2 separate regions of the Homo sapiens genome follow, and region 2 is linked to region 1. Evidence: promoter capture Hi-C in 16 types of primary human blood cells and fetal thymus (Javierre and others, 2016). All regions are on one chromosome and are shown on one strand. The core of a region is centred on a gene start or on the middle of the fragment in contact, and the rest is flanking DNA. Distances in the headings are between cores, read along the strand shown. Region 1 holds the start of ASIC3 (acid sensing ion channel subunit 3). Region 2 overlaps LOC107986858 (a long non-coding RNA gene).

Region 1 (2,846 bases), core at 95-2,594:
GGTTTTTCTGTGTTTCTCTGGGAACTGCAGGAAAAGGAAATGGGCCCCTGTGGCTGTCCTCCGGGGCTGGCAGTATGTTGAAAAGGCAGAGGGAAAGCAAGCCCCCCCCACCTCCTGGCAGAGATAGGGGTCTTCTGCCCCAGAATGGTCCCACCATGGAGGACCCCCAGCCCCAGGAGCAGGGCCTCCCTGGGCCAGACCTCAGGCCTAGGGCCAGCCGGGGTCAGTGTGGCCTCACATGCTCCCCTCGGGCTGGGAGACAGAGAAAGCCCCAAGGAGGACAGCTTCCTGGGCTGCACGGAGTGGCACTGGGGGGTGGGGAGTCCATGGCTGGTAGGAAGGAAGAGGTCCCCTGGCTTTGGGGGAGCCTGTGCTGGCTAGGGAATTGTGGGTGCTGGGCAGGGACTGGTCGGCTCTCTGGGTCCCTGGCAGGATAGGTAGGGAGGTCAGCTCACCGTGGTGAAGTTCTCAGGCCCACAAGGTTGGCCACGGAAGCGACAGTCCAGCAGCATGTCATCCAGGGAGTGCCCAGCACGGGCATAGAGTTGCGCCATGTCAAAGGTGGGACTGGGCATGAAGCCGGGCGGTGCAGGGGGCCGGCCCAGGGCGCGCAGGAAGGCGGCGTGCTCTGCGGGATCCAGGCCCAGCAGCGCAGACCCAGCCCAGTGCAGGTCGTTGGGCGTTAGGCGCGAGCGGCGCAGTGGGTTGATGTTGCACAGGGTGACAGCCGGGAAGATGAGCCGGTGGCTTTCTCGCTCATCCAGGGCAGTCTGGTGGTGGAACTCCCTGTAGTAGCGCACCCTCTCAGCCACCTGGTAGAGGAAGGTGGCCACTGACAGGACCACGGCCGCTGCCCACATCCCCCGGCGCAGGCTCAGGCTGCCTGGCCCGAAGACGTGGCCCAGCCCGTGCATCGAGCAGTTGCTGGCGAACACGCGGATGTCCGAGGCTGGCCGCCGGGCCTCCTCTGGGCCTGAGGTGGGCTTCATGGCCAGAACCCAGGAGCGGAACCAGCTACAGAGGCTTGGAAGAAGCGAGAGAGAGTCAGTCAGGGGGCTAAGGAGGCTAAGATAGGATTCAGGAGGCCAGGCAAGGAGAGGAGAAGAGAGGGTGGGAGACAGCCAAGGTTGGAAGGCAGGGAGGCACTAGCCTGGCAGGATTGGAGGAGGTGATCTGGCCGGTCAGGTCCCACTGTTCCTTCCCGAGGAACAGGCGGTGGCTCCACTGGGCTAGGCACTGGGCTGGGGACTCCGCAGCAGACCAGGTGGGACGTAGCTGACCGTGGCAGGCAGGGGCTGCGGAGCGGTGCTGAGCCGGCGGTGCTGAGCCGGCGCTGCTGCAGAGGATTGGGTTTCAGCAGTAGGGGGGAAAGGGGGCCGACAGAGCAGTCTGGGGGGTAGGAGAGGTCCCTAGGGCCCCAGGCTGAGCCATTAGTGCAGCATGGAGGGGGGCATGGCTGTCCAAGACGAGAGGCGCCAGGAGGAAACCGCAGTAATCCTAGGGAGAGCTTGAGAAAAGCCCAGAGGTAGATTGGGCCTGGAGATGCCTTGGGGCCCCCTAGGCTCCCAGTTGCAACCCCTGTACACTGGCCGCGAGGGTCAGTCGCTGACCCCTGGCCTAGCTCCTCTCTCCTTTTGCCTCTGCGGCCTTCCCTCTAGCTTCACCCAGGATCTGTTCCTTCACGAATACCAGAGCTGGCTCTTGGCCAAGCTGGGAAATGGTTGGAAGGCTGGCATCAGCAGATCTCTTCTTTCTGTGCCCCTAGCATCTCAGCCTACACTGGATGGCCAGGGCACTCTTCATGTCCCACTTCCAGGGCCCGTCTGTTTCCTAAGTGTCCCTCTCTCCCTAGGGAGTCAAAGCCTACCTCCCCACACTCAGGCCTCTGAGGATGTTGGCCTCTACAATGGTTATGGGCTCACCTGCCACCCCAGGTAGAACATGGGTGCCCCACCTGCCACCCTCCCGGGTACCACGGGTACCCCACCTGCCATCTCAGGCACAACATGGGTATTCTGTGATTTCCCATCTTACGCTGCTATATCCAGGACCTGGAAAACCTACATTTTTCCAAAGGGCTGCATACCACCCATTATGTGCACATACCATAGTTTATTTAATGACTCCCCCACTGATGGGCACTGGGGGTGTCCAGTCTTTCCATTACAAACAATGTTGCCGTATCATCACACAGATGTGAACTCCCAGGACTTTGGTGGGCTTTTTTTGACCATGAGTGGTAGAAACATGGTTCCACCAGCCAAACGTGTGCACACACCATGCTGCAACTGCTGGGCCACCTGTCTGTCCTCCCAACAGGACACAAGCTTCATGGGGGCAGGGACTGTCCTCATTCCCCATCGTGGGCTCAATGGCACATGACAGGTGCTTGATTAATAAACACTTTGGAAGGACTGAGTACCATGGTTACAGCACAGGCGTACCAGCTCCCCAGAGCCACAGTGCCATGCTTTGCAAGTATTTACTGTAGATGATCCCACTCACACTCTCAAAACAGGCATTCAGCATCAAGCACAGCTAGGCTCCCACTCTCCACTGTGGAGCGAAGGCCGAGGCGAGGTTAGGAAGACGGCGCGGCTCCTGCGGTCTAGCTCTTCCAGCTGGACTAGCCAAGGGGTTTCACTGCTTCTCTAGGGGGCGGGTGAAGGGCTGGATTTAAAGAAGCCGCCCAGAAGATATAAATCTGGTGTCAGAGGCATTTTGGGCAGCCTGAGGCTGATGACTGAGTGGGTGAAGCAGGAACCACCTTGGCTGGCTGCCTGGTGAGGGAGGGGTCAGGCCAACAAGCAGGGCCCCAGCAGGGCTTGTGGACTTGCCAGCTGAGG
Region 2 (2,846 bases), core at 156-2,655, 700 kb after region 1:
TCTCTCCTCACTGCCCTCCTGAGTCTCTCTCTCCCTGAGGATCAAAACCATGTCTACAGCTGTTCAAGCCAGAAACCTGGGATTCACCCCTCTCTGTTGACCTCGACCCCAACATCTTATCAATCACCAAACCCTGGTGCTTTAGTCCTGAGGTATTTCTGGACTTTGTTTTCCCATCTTCACTGCCTCCAGTTTTGTCCCTGCCACATTCGTCTCTCACCCGGACAATCACAATTATCTCCTGCTGAGATTTATTCCCTTTTATCCACTCTCCACACAGCAGCCAGAGTAAGCTTTCAGAAATGCTATTGGGACCAGGCGCGGTGGCTCACACCTGTAATCTCAGCAGTTTGGAAAGGTAAGGTAGGAGGATCACTTGAGCTCAGAAGTTCAAGACCAGCCTGGGCAACAAAACAAAACCTCCTCTCTCCTGAAAAAAAAAATAATAATAATAAAAACTAGCTGGGTGAGGTGGTCCTGTAGTTCTAGCTACTGGGAGGCTGAGGCAGGAAGATCAATAGAGCCTAGAACATGGAGGCTGCAGTGAGCTCTGATTATGCCATTGCACTCCAGCCTGGGCAACAGAATAAGACTTTGTCTCAAAAAAAGAGAAAAGAAAAGAAGACAAAAGAAAAGCTGTTGCTTTGCTTTCTGATTTTAAAAGTATTAAGGCCAAGCACAGTGGCTCAAGCCTGTAATTTCAGCACTTTGAGAGTCCAAGGTGGGTGGATTGCTGAACCTAGAAGTTTGAGATCAGCCTGGGCAATGTGACAAAATCCTGTCTCTAGAAAAAAATACAAAAATTAGCCTAGGATGATGGCATGCACCTGTGGTCCAAGCTACTTGGGAGGCTGAGGTGGGAGGATCGCTTGAGCACAGGAGGTTGAGGCTGCAGTGAGCCATGATTGAGCCACTGCTCTCCAGCTTGAACGACAGAGCAAGACCCTGTCTCAAAAAATAGTTTTTAAAGTTTTTTTATATTTTAATAGACAAATTATCCACAAGTTATAAAAATTTAAAAGTACAAAGGGAGTACAGTTTTCCTGCCTCTGTTTTCCCCAGCTGGACAGATCCTCTCCTCACAGGCAAACACTGTTATAAGTTTCTTGTTTTTCCCTTCTAGAAATATTCCATGCATTTACAAACACAAAAATTTGTTCATTTTTAGTTTTAGTTTTTACTCACATAATTGGTAACACATGCTCTGCCTGCAATATCCAATATGGTAGCCACCAGCCACAGGTTTAGGAACACTTGCCATGTGGCTGGTGTGACTGAGGTATTTATTGGAATGCTAAAACAAGAGATTGATGCTTCCAATGTTGCTTCATTTCACTTTAGGGTACATATTGAAGATATTTGTGCTCAGTTTTCTGAAATTTATTCTATGCAAGTCTCATGGCTACAGCCATTAAAACTAATTCCGTATTTAAGTGGAAATGCTATGAATCACTGCTGGTTTTATGGAACTGTTGAAAGCAATGAAAGATAATGAATTTAATGATCTTTTCTTTACCAAAGCTCATTGTCAGGGTTGTAGAAGAGTTCTCCTAAGATTTACTGTACTTTTAACTAACTCCAAGATTTTCTTGAGACAGAAGCCATGATTACCAAATATACAACAATAAGTATTATTATTATTTGTTTTGGGGACAAGGTTTTGCTCTGTGGCCAAGTCTGAGAGTGGTGGCTTGAGCCTATAATCCCAACACTTTGGGAGGCTGAGGTGGGAGGGTCATGTAGTGGCATGATCATAGCTCACTGCAACCTTGACTTCCCAGGCTCAAGTGATCGTCCCCCGCCAGCCTCCTGAGTAGCCAGGACTACAGACTTTTGCCACCACACTCAGCTAATTAAACTTTTTTTTTTTTGTAAAGATAGCCTCTCTCTATATTGCCCAGGCTGGTCTTGAACTCCTGGGTTCAGTGATCCACCCACCTTGGACTCCCAAAGTGCTAGGATTACAGGCATGAGTCACTACTCTCAACCCAAATATTCAATAATTAAAAATAAAAAAGTCAGTGTTTTCTCACCAATACCACACTACATATAAATGGGCTAAATTTGAATATCCAAGGAGATGAAACCTCATTTGTGACCTAGCCAGATAAATATAAGCATTTCAAATTAAATATTTTCATAATACTGACAAATAATTACAATCTACATACTTTTGTCACAAGAATCAACATACAGAGGTTTTAATTGTAATATACAGCATTGTGTAAATTGGCAAAATTTCAAGAAAAATGTGAAGAATTCTTAGTTGATATTGATAAATTTAGAATGGCTTTTGAATTTATGCAATATCATTTTTGAATTTATGCTAATGGTACCGAATTGACACAAGTTGGAAAATGTACTTAACTTCAATAGGTGTAGTTTTGCAACTGATATGCTCTTACTTCAAAGTCAAATCACTTCTTCTAAAAAAAACTATTTTTGTCAATGTGGTTGCAAATATTAAAGGACAATGTTTTTTGGTACTCAGTTCAGTTATTGGAAAACTAAGCTTGGAACAACTGGATACGTGAGTCTACTTTTTTAGCTGTCATGACCAGGAAGATCATTAACCATCATTAAATAGTGAAGTCCTGTTGTTGCTCCCCTGGACTGGGACATGTTACCTGGAGCTGAGCTCATGAATATGCCCTAAGTAGTCCTTTCACACATCCACACCTATGAGTGCTCTGCAGTAGGACTGTCCACCTCTTTGGGGTGCACCTCACATACCTACACCCAAAGTGAATTTTGTGTGGCCATTTAAGTATAGCCAGACTGGCTCCTTCCTCACCAACTCCCACCACCCTGCTCCCAACCTACCTCCCCACCTCAACTGCCTCACC

What was found. Contacts are between HindIII fragments. The CHiCAGO score rates a contact against its expected background, and 5 or more counts as called.
Region 2: a contact is called between a fragment that was not itself captured here and the fragment with the promoter of ASIC3 in region 1, in 1 of 17 cell types (total CD4 T cells). The highest score is 7.0, in total CD4 T cells.

Annotation. Positions count from the first base shown.
Region 1 is chr7:151,047,029-151,049,874 of GRCh38, reverse strand. ASIC3 (acid sensing ion channel subunit 3) reads right to left here and starts at 1,344. Exons shown (of 11, transcript NM_004769.4): 1 at 456-1,344. The coding sequence starts at 989. It overlaps ABCB8 (ATP binding cassette subfamily B member 8), which reads right to left. Exons shown (of 16, transcript NM_007188.5): 16 at 2,093-2,846. The HindIII fragment of the contact is 11,911 bases long and covers 1-2,329 here.
Region 2 is chr7:150,343,729-150,346,574 of GRCh38, reverse strand. The region is part of intron 2 of LOC107986858 (a long non-coding RNA gene); the gene reads right to left. Among named protein-coding and RNA genes, the nearest start is that of RARRES2, 3.5 kb to the right of the region's middle. The HindIII fragment of the contact is 2,219 bases long and covers 296-2,514 here.